2 separate regions of the Homo sapiens genome follow, and region 1 is linked to region 2. The links are contacts of gene promoters, found by promoter capture Hi-C in human tissues and cell types (Jung and others, 2019). All regions are on one chromosome and are shown on one strand. Each heading gives the region's core, a stretch centred on a gene start or on the middle of the fragment in contact. The rest is flanking DNA. Distances are from core to core; before and after follow the strand shown.

Region 1 (7,032 bases), core at 1,984-4,483, 80 kb before region 2:
TCAAAGATGTAGTCCTCAAACTCTCACTTTTGGAAAAAGGATCTTATTTTTGCTTGTAGTATATACTATGCATGATCTGGGGGTGGGGCGGGATGGGAATGATCTTTAAAAATAACTGGCTGATCCATTTAGAATTTTACTGAATGTAAAAGGATAAGGGCAGAGGGGCTAGGACAGGGGGAAAGGGGACCAGAATTACCAGAGGAAGAGAAGCAGCAGGAAAATGGATTATCTGCTTTAGTTTCATAAAGCTGTACTCCAGACAGACAAATCCAAAAGGGGACAAAACAGCCACACATACATACATTTCTGGAGTTTTGATCCCCTTCTCAAAGGCCAGATCCCGATATGCTTTGCAGGCCATCAGTATGCTTTCTGTTCCCCCAGAAGTCACCTATAATAAAGAAGAGATGCCATCTGTTGGGGGAGTCAGGAATGCCCCGGCTCTTCATGCCCTGATCTTGACAATGTTTGATACAGAAACAGATAAGGTCTTGGATGCATGCTGCAAGGCAGACACTGCCATGTCTTCCAGAAGGAAAATTTGGCTTTATTGGCTAAGCCTAATTTTGGCTCAGGTGAAGAATGAAAGCTACTAAATAATGAGCAGAAACTCAGCACTGCCTAGACAAATGCACACTTGGCCAGATCCCACCTATTCACAATCCATTTACATTTCTGTATTAATTTTTCAATTTTCAGATAAGATAGGGCATTTTATGCCATTCAAAAATATCAGAATTTTAATTTAAATTTTCAATACCTGTTAAAGAATGTGAAATTGTGATTACAATTCTAGTAAACTGTGCAATACACTAAAAAGAGACATTCAGATTTAACAAAGTAAACTGCTGATTTTGACAAGTTTGAAAGACAGAGAAAAGCAGAAGTTTCTACTTGATGGAAGTTTGTTGCCTTATCTGAAATAAAACAAAAATCCTAATTTTTTTTAAGTGAAGTGAAATGTTTTCCTAAAGTTTGGCCTAGCCCCTCTGATAAACACATTTCTTTACCAGAGTTCAAACAAAAAGACGTAGGGGTCTTTTTATTCATCTTATTTCCCTCACTGGACTATAAATTCATGAAAGTAGGGACCAGTCTGTTCATGACAAATTCCTAGCACCTGACATAGTGGCTGACACCTAACAAACCCTCAATCCATTTTTTTTTTTTTTTTGAGACAGAGTCTCACTCTGTTGCCCAGGCTGGAGTGCCATGGCATGATCTCGGCTCACTGCAGCCTTTGCCTCCTGGTTCAAGCGATTCTCCTGCCATAGTTACCCGAGTAGCTCGGATTACAGGCGCCCACCACCATGCCCACCTAATTTTTGTATTTTTAGCAGAGACGGGGTTTCACCATGTTGGCCAGGCTGGTCTCAAGCTCCTGGCCTCAAGTGATCTGCCCACCTCAGCCTCCCAAAGAGCTGGGATTACAGGTGTGAGCCACTGCACCTGGCCTTCACATTTCTTAATGCCTGACTTGACTCTCAGTAAACCTTGACCAACACAGGCATGTCATAGCCACCTGGCTATTTTTTTAAAAAATAATATATGAGAATGAATCATTCCAAAACAAACAAAAAGCCACAATACTAAACTAGTTGGACAACTTCTTAGACTTACCATCTCTGAAGATTCATACAATCTTTGAAAGGTTTTTTCAATTTACAGGTGAGAAAACTGAGCCCTTGAGGAATTAAAGTGTTTCACTCAATGTCATACATTAGCATCTGTTGATAAGAAGTAAAACTTTCTACGTTTTCATATTTAGTGTAGCTTAATACAAGATGGAATCAGAGAAAGTGACCACTGAACTTTGCTAAAATAATATCCACACATAGAACAAAAATACCATTGGATACAAAATCCCTGTGGCCAGGAGTTATATGGAAGATGAACTGAGAAAAGTCATTTTTTGACTCAGGAAGTCTTTATGAAACATGTGACCATCACCAAAAAATAATGCACCCAACTTGGGCATGGGACACTTGTAGGTCACTACATTTCTACGCTGCAGAAGACAAAGTGCTTACAGCTGAGGTCAGCTCTGCAAATCAGCAGCATGTCCTGTGGTTTAGCATAAAACCTCAGAATGTCACAAGAGTCGTCAAGCCAGCTGTGAAGAGTCGGGGAGGGACCAGCAAAGTCCAAGTCACCAGTGCAACAATCTCTTCGTAAGGTCCAGTAATGACCTAAGCAATAATATTTCCAAATTCCTAGTCACCTGCTTCATGTGTCCTACTTTTAGTCCAATAACTAGTCAAAACATCATTGTTATGCAAACACCAGTGGACTTTTGACTGTAAAAGTAGGAATACCTAAATTCTACTTTTTTCTTTTTTGTTTTTTTTTGAGATGGGGTCTCAATCTTTCACCTAGACTGGAGTGCCATGGCGTGATCTCGGCTCACTGCAATCTCCACCTCCCAGGCCTAAGAGATCCTCCCACCTCATCCCCCAAAGTAGCTGGGACTACAGGCACACCCCACCATGCCTGGCTAACTTTTGTATTTTTTGTAGAGACAGGGTTTCACCTAGTTGCCCAGGCTGGTCTCGAATTCCTGGGCTCGAGCGATCCACTTGCCTCAGCCTCCCATGGTGCTGGGACTACAGGCGTGAGTCACTGTGCCTGGGCCTAAGTTCTACTTTTAATATGTATTTTTGATTCTGTGTTTTAAAATGCTATTACTCTCCCACTTCTTTCTACCTCCTATACCCAAAGAGAAACAGGAATTTTAACTGTGAAGTAAGAAAATGGAGGCCTCAGTAACTATTTGTTATGTCATTCAACTTCTTTCAACATGTATAAAAACTCTCACTTTAACATATGATATGTATTTCAGAAAACAAGAGAACAACATCTACTTGGAAAATTTTCTTTCAGATGCTGTTTGGATCTGATAACATTAGCACAAGCCAAGAAGAATGTTTCACATGGTAACCTAATTTCTTTTAGTATGTGAAGTTACCTCTATCATTGTAACTGAGACAAATAAAGTTAATAGAAGGAAAGATAGTTTAAGGCTGAAGAACAAAGAATGAGAGAGCTTACAACTCTTAACTCTTAGCTAGGAATAACCTAAAGACTGCCCAGCCATTTGGTTTTATCTTCTGGCTTCCCACCTCTGAACAGTGAACTCTTTCTTCACTAGAAGCAGCTCATCCAGAGAGAGAAGTAAGAAGCTAAGGGAGGAGTGGGGGAGACAGAGTGGGAGAGGGAAAAAGACAATACCAGTGCTGATTAGTTATTTTATAAAAGTCTAAATATTAGAAGAGCCTGGGAATCAGACTCTATCCTTCTTCTGATCCCTCACACGTGCTGAAGATCAAAATAATAGAGATATGGTTTAATTGCAGCAATGCAAAAAACCCCTAGGCCTGGACTTCAGGAGTAAGATGGGAAGAAAAAAAAAAAGGGTGAGTGCAGGGAGAGAAAAGAGTCAAAATCTACAATAACAACAACCAAACAAGGAAAGAGAGATAATCTAGGCAATAAACTTCAAATATTGGCAATCAAAAAAAAAAAAGAAACAGTGAAACAGCAGAGAGCAGAAGTAAGCAAAACACTAGTTTCTAATCAGCCCTTGAAACTGTACCGCAAAGTCAGCAAAATCCTGAGAATTTTCCTTTATACCCCCAAATCTGCAGAGGCAAGCTGAGGGGGTTTCCTTATTTTCTTCTTCTTCTCATGAGTGAGTGGTAAACATGGCTGCTAGGGAGAAATGAGCAAAATGAAGAGAGAACATCAGGATTGGCTCTTTAGAGTGAAGACTTCAGTGAATTAAATAATCAGAGCTCAAAGGGTATATTATCTCTTCCAAATAAGAGAGTGAACTCTGATAGGTAACTTTGAAGAGAATCTCAGAATAGACCTGGTTATTCTAATACAGATAGAACAAAGCTTTGGCTGAGCTTTGTCCCCAGCCAAATGGTCTCAGACAGGAAGCACCCACAGTGCATAAGAACAATGTCTGGAGAATGCCACCCCAAGATGAGAGAAAATGGCAAGGAAACTATGCAAACAAACTAAAAGGCAGGGGAAAAGGTAGTATGTAGCATGCAAAATAAAAACCCAACACAGAAGGAAACAAGCTAAGGGATGAAGGAAACCCCTTATAACTTTCTCACTATAGGAAAATATCATAAGAACATGAATTTAAGAAAACAAAGAGTTCAAAACCTAGACCATGAAACAAAAAGAATGAGCTACAGACCTAAAAAAACAAAGCCAGTAGCATCCATACAGAACTAACAAAGACATTAGGAACAGCAAGGAATAAAATAAACATTGCCAAGAATAAAAATGCTGACTTCAAGGAAAAGGTCTGAAATAAGTTTATTGAACCCAGATTTAAAAAAGACAGAGATTGAAAGATCAATGCCACTCCAAATGTGGAGAACTGTGTTCAATCTGGCCAGAGGCAACCAAAAGTCATACAGAGAATGACTGCGATGGTTGGAAGTCTGTGAAATCATATGAAAAGCGGAGTAACCCAGAAAAATGTGGGGCAGAGAAGATTCAGGGAGAAAGGGGCTTTCAAATAGACGAAGGTCTGTAACATGGAAAAAACAATTATGGAACTTCTATTTCTAGCAATATTATATACCTTGAGCAACCTTCCTAACTGAAATAACTAAAAAACTTGATAAAACATCAAAAAAAAAAAATTTAAACCTATCACTAACCTAACATAAAGAAACTTGCTAAACCCCCAAACAAAGCAAAATCAAGAATCCTGCAAGATAAGTGAGTGGCAAAACTAGCTTTCACCCTGAGGTGGCACCAGACCCTTCAGACTTCAAACTCCTACACTGACAGATGAGCAAAGGATGGACCAGAAGATACATTAGAGACTGCCCAAGATAAGGAGTCCAACAGGAGATGGCTGGAAAAAGACCACACTCTACAGTGTACAAGAAATAAATCCCACTACTGCAAAAGAGAAAAGAAAAACTGTTTTTCTCAACCCTGATGTTCAAGTAAAGAAAAATAGCAATCTTTCAAGAATGTGTAACAAGGAAGCCTTTATGTGAGTTTGTGGTCAGAATTCACACTACCTCTGTGGTACAAAATGACAAGCTAAGGATTTGACTTAATTTGGTTCCAGTGTGGTGGCAATCCCCAGCAACTCAAAAAGGTATGACAAATCTTCTCTGGAAGAAGAGAACTTCCAGACTTAACTTCAATCTAGGCCTCAAAGAATCCCTAGGTTCCCAGAAAAATGAGTGGCTCATAAAAAAATAAATAAATAAAATAAAATCACAAATATAAGGAAACAAGGAACCATGACTGAAGCCAGCAGAATCAGGTAAGGCTCATGGATATTGGAATTATCAGACACAGAATACAACATATTTATGTGTAATATATTTAAGTAAACAAAAGTTAAGCCAAGGAAAAGGACTATAAAAAACAACCAAGCAGATTAAAAAAAAAAAAAAAAAAAAAAGACGGCCAAGCGTGGTGGCTTACGCCTGTAATCCCAGCACTTTGAGAAGCCAAGGCAGGCAGATCACTTCAGCTTGGGAGTTCAACACCAGCCTGGGCAACATGGTGAAACCCCATCTCTACTAAAAATACAAAAATTAGCGAGGCATGGTGGTGCATGCCTGTAGTCCCAGCTACTCAAGGGGGCTGAGGTGGGAGGGTCGCTTGAGCCCAGAGAGGTCAAGGCTGCAGTGAGCTGAGATGGCACCACTACACTCTGGCCTGAGCAACAGAGTGACACCCTGTCTCAAAAAATAATAATAAAATAAAAGGAGAACTACAAAACAGAATTCTTTAGAATGAAATTAGAGTAAATAAAATTGAAAAGCCCAATGGGCTTCTACTGTGTCCGGAATTGGTGGGTTCTTGGTCTCACTGACTTCAAGAATGAAGCCGCGGACCCTCGCGGTGAGTGTTACAGCTCTTAAGGTAGCACGTCTGGAGTTTGTTCCTTCTGATGTTCGGATGTGTCCGGAATTTCTTCCTTCTGGTGCGTTCGTGGTCTCGCTGGCTCAGGAGTGAAGCTGCAGACCTTCACAGTGAGTGTTACAGCTCTTAAGGCAGCGCGTCCGGAGTTGTTCGTTCCTCCCGGTGGGCTCGTGGTCTCACTGGCTTCAGGAGTGAAGCTGCAGACCTTCGTGGTGAGTGTCACAGCTCATAAAAGCAGCGTGGACCCAAAGAGTGAGCAGTAGCAAGATTTATTGCAAAGAGCGAAAGAACAAAGCTTCCACAGTGTGGAAGGGGACCCGAGCGTGTTGCCACTGCTTGCTCTGGCAGCCTGCTTTTATTCTCTTATCTGGCCCCACCCACATCCTGCTGATTGGTAGAGCCAAGTGGTCTGTTTTGTCAGGGCGCTGATTGGTGCGTTTACAATCCCTGAGCTAGACACAAAGGTTCTCCACGTCCCCATCAGATTAGTTAGATACAGAGTATCCACACAAAGGTTCTCCAAGCCCCCACCAGAGCAGCGAGATACAGAGTGTCGATTGGTGCACTCAGAAACCCTGAGCTAGACACAGGGTGCTGATTGGTGTGTTTACAAACCTTGAGCTAGATACAGAGTGCCGATTGGTGTATTTACAATCCCTGAGCTACACATAAAGGTTCTCCAAGGCTCCACCAGACTCAGGAGCCCAGCTGGCTTCACCCAGTGGATCCCGCACCGGGGCTGCGGGTGGAGCTGCCTGCAGGACTGGAGCTGCCTGCCAGTCCTGCGCTGTGCGCCTGCACTCCTCAGCCCTTGGGTGGTCGATGGGACTGGGCGCCGTGGAGCAGGGAGTGGCGCTCGTCAAGGAGGCTGGGGCCACACAGGAGCCCACGGAGGGGGTGGGAGGCTCAGGCATGGCGGGCTGCAGGTCCCGAGCCCTGCCCCAGGGGAAGGCAGCTAAGGCCCAGCGAGAAATCGAGCGCAGTGCCGGTAGGCCGGCACTACTGGGGGACCTAGAACCCCCTCCGCAGCTGCTGGCTGGGTGCTAAGCCCCTCATTGCCCGGGGCCGGCAGGGCCGGCCGGCTGCTCCGAGTGCGGGGCCCGCCAAGCCCATGCT
Region 2 (7,093 bases), core at 4,576-7,075:
TATGTATATGTGTATAAAATAAAATATATATGTATAAAATAAAATACCTACAGCAGCCACTAAAAAAAGATACAGAGATACACTCAAAAGCGTTGTAAATAAATCAAAATGGAATTCTTAGTAGAATGTCCAAGAAACCCACAGTGAGACAGGAAAAAGAAAAAAAAAGAACATAAATTGGTAGAGTGGATTTCAAAACTTCATACAACTCTATGCAGTCTGTAAGAAACTCATTTCAAATATGATGACATAGGAACATTGAATGTAAAATGATGAAAAAAGATAAATCATGCAATCATTAATTAAAGGAAGGGAGTGGCTAAATTAATATCAGATAAAGTAAACTTCAGAGCAAAGAAAATGACAGAGACATAGGGGATATTAAATAATAATAAAAGCACCAGTCTATCAAGAAGATCTAGCAATCCTAAATGTATGTGCACCAAACAGCAGAGTCACAAAATGTGTGAAGAAACTGACAGAACTGAAAAGAGAAATAGACAAATCCACAATTATTGTTGGAAGCTTCAATAACCCTCTCTCAACCATTGATAGAACTAGACAAAAATTAGCAAGAATATACAAGAACTCAACAATTTTAACCAATAGACTTTAACATTTATAGAGCCCTTCACCCAATAACAGCAGAATACACATTCTTTTCTAGTGCTCATAGAATGTACACCAACATAGACCACATCCTGAGCCACAGAACAAACCTCAACACATTTAAAGAATTAAAATAATATAGAGTACCTTCCGCAAGCACAATTGAATCAATGTTGAAATCAATAGCACAAAGATAACTGGAGGGTGGGCATGGTGGTTCATGTCTGTAATCCCAGCACTTTGGGAGGCCAAGGTGGGTGGATCACTTGAGCTCAGGATTTCAAGACCAGCCTAGGTAACATGGCAAGACCCCATCTCTACAAAAATACAAAAATTAGCCAGGCGTGGTGGTGTACACCTATAGTCCCAGCTACTTGAAAGCTGAGGTGGGAGAATCACTTGAGCCTGGGAGGTCAAGGCTGCAGTTAGCTGTAATTCCACCACTGAACTACAGCCTGGGTAACAGAGTGAGACACTGTCTCATTTTAAAAAATAAATAAATGAAAAAGATAACAGGGAAATCTACAAACATTTGGAAATTAATAACATGCTTCTTTAAAAAATCCATGTTGGTAAAAGAAAATTTTAAAAGAAATTTTAAAAATACATTATAACTGAATGAAAATGAAGACATAGCATATCAAGATTCGTGGGCGACTGCTAAAGTACGTTGGGAGGAACATTTATAGCACTAAATGCATATATTAGAATAGAGGAGGCCAGGCACGATGGCTCATGCTTATAATCCCAGCACTTTGGGAGGTCGAGATGGGTGGATCATGAGGTCAGGAGTTCAAGACCAGCCTGGCCAAAATGGTTAAACCCCGTATCTACTAAAAATACAAAAAAATTAGCTGGACATGGTGGCAGGCGCCTGTAATCCCAGCAACTCCGGAGGCTGAGGCAGAGAATTGCTTGAACCTGGGAGGCAGAGGTTGCAGTGAGCGAAGATCGCGTCACTGCACTCCAGCCTGGGTGACAGAGCGAGACTCCATCCCCCTACCAAAAAAAAAGAGAGAGAAAAGTGTCCAACAAATAATCTAAGCACCCCCCTCACAAAACTAGAAAAAGCAGTGCAAAATAAATCCAAAACAAGCAGAACAATGAAATAACGAAGATAAGAGCAGAAATCCATGAAATTGAAAACAGAAAAAAAAAAGGAAAAATATCAATAAAACAAAGAGCTGGTTCTTTGAAAACATCAGTAAAATTGGCAAACTTCTATCTAGCAAGACTGGCAAAAAAAGAAAGAGAAAGAAATCACAAATTAATAGTATCAGGAATGAAATAAAGATATCACTACATATTCTACAGATATCAAAAGGATAATAAGAGAATATTACAAAACAACTCTACACAAATAAATTTTACAATATAAGAGACATTGGCCAACTCCTTGAAAAAGAAACTATTACAACTCACCCATTTTGAAACAGATCTCTTGAATAGTCCCATAACTGTTAAGAAAATTGAATTTTCAATTTTAAAACACCCCAAAAAATAAATCTCCAGGCCCAGGTAGTTTCACTGGAGAAATCCAGCAAACATTTAAAGAAGAATTAACATCAATTTTACACGATCTCTTCCAGAAAATAGAAAAGGAGGTAACACTTCCCAATTCATTTTATGAAATTAGTATTACCCTGATGATACCCAAACCAGAGGAAGATACTACAAAAAGGAAACTACAGATAAATATTCATCATAAATATAGGTGCAATAATCCTTAACAAAATATTTTCAAGTAGAATCCAGCAATATATAAAAAGAATTGTACACCATGACCAAGTGGGGCTTATTCCAGGGATAAAAAGCTAGTTCAATATTTGAAAAATCAATGTACTGACCAGCAAAAGAAGAAAAATCACAAGATCATATTAGTTGATGCAGAAAAAAAGCATTTGATAAAATTCAACACACATTTATGACAAAAATGCTCAGAAAAATAGGAAGAGAGAGGGACTTCTTTAACCTGATAAAGAGTATATATAAAAAACCTACAGCTGACATTATATTTAATGGTTAAAGACTCTGTGTTTACTTCCTAAGATTAGGAACAAGGTAAGGATGTGCACTCTCACCACTGTTATTCAACTTAGTATTGGAAATTCTAGGCAGTGCAGTAAGACAAGAGAAGAGAAGAGAAGAGAAGAAAAAGCATATATATGGGAAAGAAAGAAAGAAAGAAAACTGTCCCTATTTGCAGATGATATTATTACCTATGTAGAAAATTCCAGGGAATCTACAACATATCTCCAGAAACTAATAAGTGAGTTCAGCAAGGTTGCAGGATACAAACTAACATACCAAATTAATAGTGTTTCTATATACTAGCAATGCATATATGGACACCAAAATTTAAAATACCATACCATTTACAGTTCCTTTAAAAACAAAAACTGAAATAGGTGAAAATCTAACAAAACATGTCCACGGCTTTTATGCTGAAAACTATAAAATGCTGATTAAAGTAATCAAAGAATATTTAAATAAATGGAGAGATATACTATGTTCATGGACTGGAAGACTCAACATGGTAAAGATGTCCATTCTCCCCAAATTGATACAGAAGTTTAACCTGATTCCTATAAAAATCTAAACAAAAATGTTTGTAGATATCAATAAGATTATTCTAAAATTTGTATGGAAAGGCAAAGGAACTAGAATATCCAAGACACTCTTAAAAAAACAAAGCTGGAAGTCTTATACCACTTATATAGACATCAAGATGTATTTAAAGTTACAGTAATTAAGAGAATATAGTGTTGGTGCATTGGTAGACAGAAAGTCCAGAGACAGACCCACACATATACGGATACTTGAATTTTGTTAAAGATGGTACTGCAGAGATAAGGACAATGTTTTAAGTAATGGTACTGGGTCGAATGGATATTTATATGGAAAAAATATATATAAATTTTGACCCCTATCTTACACCAAACACAAAAATCAATTCCGTATTGATTGTAGATCTAAACATGAACAGCAAAACAGTAAATCTTCAGAAAATAATAATGAGAATTATCTTCATAACCTTGGGTAGGCAAAAATCTCTTAAAACACAAAACCCACTAACCATTAAGGACAAAATTGATAAACTGGGTTATGTTAAAATTAGGAATTCTCTTTATCAAAAGACTGCATATAGACACAGACAAGCAAGACACAAAGGAGAGAATATATTTGCAACACAAATAACTAAAGATTTATCTGATCATTAATTTCTCCATCTATAGGATTACATGAGGTAATATATCTAAGAGGTTGGCACAGTGCCTGGCACATAGAAAGTGTTCCATGAAGTTTCTATTGCCTCTGTTATGACTGAGTCATCCAGGCCAAGGACTGTACCTCAAATCACTCTCAGGCTGACAGATCTCTCTACAGTTTTTGACACTCCACAAAGGAGTCAGAAGAGTTTCCTCAGTTCTTCTTTTACAAACCAGTGTTGAAGACATTTCCTGAGGAACCCCTTCATCCCCCCAGCTGCAGTCCCTATGCAGACCCCCATGCTCGATTGTAAATAACATAGTTGAAGCATTACAAGGCACCAGTGGGGAGGATGAGAGTGGGTTTTCATCTCAGCTGAGTCAGCTCGCGTGGTGGGAAATGCCACAAGAGTGCTGAAAGCAGGAGGGAGGAGTGGCTTGTCACGGGGAAGAAAGCCTCTCTTCTCCCAAATGCTATATCATCTATCTTCACAGCTGCCAGGATGCCCAGAAGTATGGAAGAGGGGGTTTTCAGTATGATTTCAAAAGAGTCACCGTATTCCTGCAGAGACAGGCCCAGAAAAAGCCAGGGAACATCCTGACCTGCCGAAGGATGGGTGGGCATTTGGAGTAGGCCAAGACCAGAGGACAGCCCTCAGGGGGCCACCAGAGTGGTATGAATCCCCACCCCTTAGCTGGGAGGGGCAGAACTTTTGAAGGACTTGGGTTTGCCTCTAGCTACCCACCTTCCTTTTCTTGCTCCCCAGAGAAAAGACACAGAGTCTGGAAGCCCCAGGGCACCAGTATGAAGCCAGGGGTGCTGAGAGCAAAGGCCCTGGGAAAAGCCCACCTCATCATTCTGAGGGACAGCACCCGGCACTGTCTGCAAGCCTTCCCATAGTTTACAGAGCCTGTCTGCACCCCTCCCGGGATCTGATTGAGTTACAGCCCTGTCGGCTAAGAACTATCCTTACCCCCATTTGACAGGTGTCCAAGTTGAGCCTCAGAGAAATAGTGAACTACCTAAGATAGTTCTCAGACAAAGGACTCATCCTACTACCTCCATCAAGTTACCAATAATAATGATGATTATTATCCTTTTTGAGCATCTCTTGTGTGCCAGACATACAACTAAAGGCTTCACTTCCATTAGCTTGTCTTCAGAACAACCACAGAAGTAGGTGAGGATATCCCATTTTATAGACCCAGAGAAGGCAATAATAGTAAGAAATTATACTTGGGGGCAGATACTGTTTGAAACGCTTTAATATATATCAACTCACTTAATATTCTCAAACATCCTGTGAGAATAAGTGCAGTATCATCATCTCCATTTTAGAGATATGGGAACTAAGGCTCAGAGAAGGCAGGTGCATTGTCTGAGGCCACACAACTAGGAAGTAGCAGAATAGGGACTCGAAGCAAGGATTCTTCCCACTATTTTGCATCTGTGGCAGTCCCGGTGACTTACCCAAGGTAACGTGTCTATGGGATGTTGAAATCTGATTAAAACACCTGTCCAAATGCAAGCCCAGAATCTTCCCACCCAGCTGTCATGCAGAGAGAGGGGCTGGGGTCCCTCTGGGTAATGCGGGCTGCCATCTTCTCTCCTTCCAAGACCCACCTCCCTGAGAATGGGTCCCCAGAACCAAGATGCATGGAAGCCGACCCCTGTGTGGTGGGGTCAGGCCAGGTGGGGCTGACGAAGCTGGGACGCAGCCCACCAACGTCCTCTGCCAGCGTTCCGCCTCCATCCGCTTCTCTCTGGCTAAAACCAGCCCCAGACTCTCCTTCTCTCCCTTGGCCCCCATTGAAAGTGTTGGATGGGAGGCAGCAGGGAAGTCAGGAGGGACAGAAGGTCCTTAGCCCTTGTCTACCCTTCCAGGAGGGGGAGATAGGCAGGGGATGTGGTAGAGGGGTGCTGGGCAGAGGTTCTGGAGTTGTGGGAACAGGGTAACCTAGCAACCACTGGGCTCAGTGTCACAAAGCAGGCAGACTTGCCCACAGAACCCACAGCCTTCCCCTCGATTTGTCCTCTTGCTCCTTCCTGCTAGGACAGCAGGGCTTCTCGTACACATGCTGTAGCGGGCACTGCCTTGGTGAGTCCAGGGACCTCTCGGGAGAGGAGATGGACCCTGGACAGCCCAGAAGGGCAGAGGTAGAAAGGGAAGTTTTGTGGCTGGATTGATGGGAGCCCTCAGACCCCTCTGCCTGGCTGGCTGGGGCCCCAGGGACAGAGAGCAGGGGCAGGGCAGGGCAGACTACACTGGGGTCCCACCTGTCCCGCTCTGGACAAGGCAGGCTTGGCCTACTAGAGTCCCTGTCAGCCTCTCTACAGCCGCTGTGGGTTATGACCCCCTGGTGGCTTATTAGATCAATTTAAATGGATCATATCTAACATTTAAGAAATAAAAACCAAAAATAGGGTAAAAATATCAGTGTGCATCATATGTAGTACGGATAAATATTGCTTCAGGATATTATTGTTTTAGTTTCACACACACACACAAACCCATATGTGAATTGGATCATGACATAAAGAATTTCTTACCGTCATCACAGCCAAACACATTTGCAAGTCTCTGTTCTAAAGAGTACTTTTTCCCATAGGCAGGAGGATTTGGGGCTTCCACATATCCTGTTCTCAAGATTGTAGCATCTCAGTACTCTAGAGCCCAGTACCTGACATCAAGGATGTCTGGAGCTTCCTTTTAAGGAAAGAAAAGATCAGCAAACTGTGAGTCAGACTGCCCGGGCTCTGGTTCCTTCTGTGTGACCTCAGCAAATCTCCCCTGCTTCCCTGATCTCAGACAACTCCAACCCATCCCACTACCTGATGAAGGCTGGCATTGGGAGATCTCTGGGGTCCCTTGCAGATTCTGTGACTCTGAGGGTTAATTCTCAGAATGCACTGATGTCCTGTCCCAACCCCATCCCTAGCACTTTGGCTAGATATATATATTCAGGTCCATAGATTTAATCATAATTCTTGGTTTTGACACCTATCATCTTTCATCTATGCCATTTAATTAGTTTATTTAATAATATAATAAACACAAGCAAATACACCACCCAAACCAAGAACAAGAACATCATCACTAACACATCTCCTTATATGCGCTTCTCCTGCACACTTCCCCTCCCCGCCTTCCCTCGGAAATAGCCACTATGTGAATTTCGTGCTTAGCATTTCCTTGTTTGATGCTGTTGTTGCTGTTTTATCGCATGTTCATGATCATTTTGCTTGCTTTTAAACTTTTATTTTTAGAAAGGAT

The links. The method cuts DNA at HindIII sites, captures the fragments that hold promoters and counts their contacts. A contact is called where the count stands out against the background at its distance.
Region 1: a contact is called between a fragment that was not itself captured here and the fragment with the promoter of TBATA in region 2, in 2 of the 25 tissues and cell types used here (liver and thymus).

What each region holds. Positions count from the first base shown.
Region 1 is chr10:70,861,707-70,868,738 of GRCh38, reverse strand. It overlaps SGPL1 (sphingosine-1-phosphate lyase 1), which reads right to left. Exons shown (of 15, transcript NM_003901.4): 8 at 306-394. Among named protein-coding and RNA genes, the nearest start is that of PCBD1, 23 kb to the left of the region's middle. The HindIII fragment of the contact is 9,380 bases long and covers 1-7,032 here.
Region 2 is chr10:70,784,109-70,791,201 of GRCh38, reverse strand. It overlaps TBATA (thymus, brain and testes associated), which reads left to right and starts at 5,825. Exons shown (of 11, transcript NM_001318241.2): 1 at 5,825-5,917; 2 at 6,429-6,555. The HindIII fragment of the contact is 18,774 bases long and covers 1-7,093 here.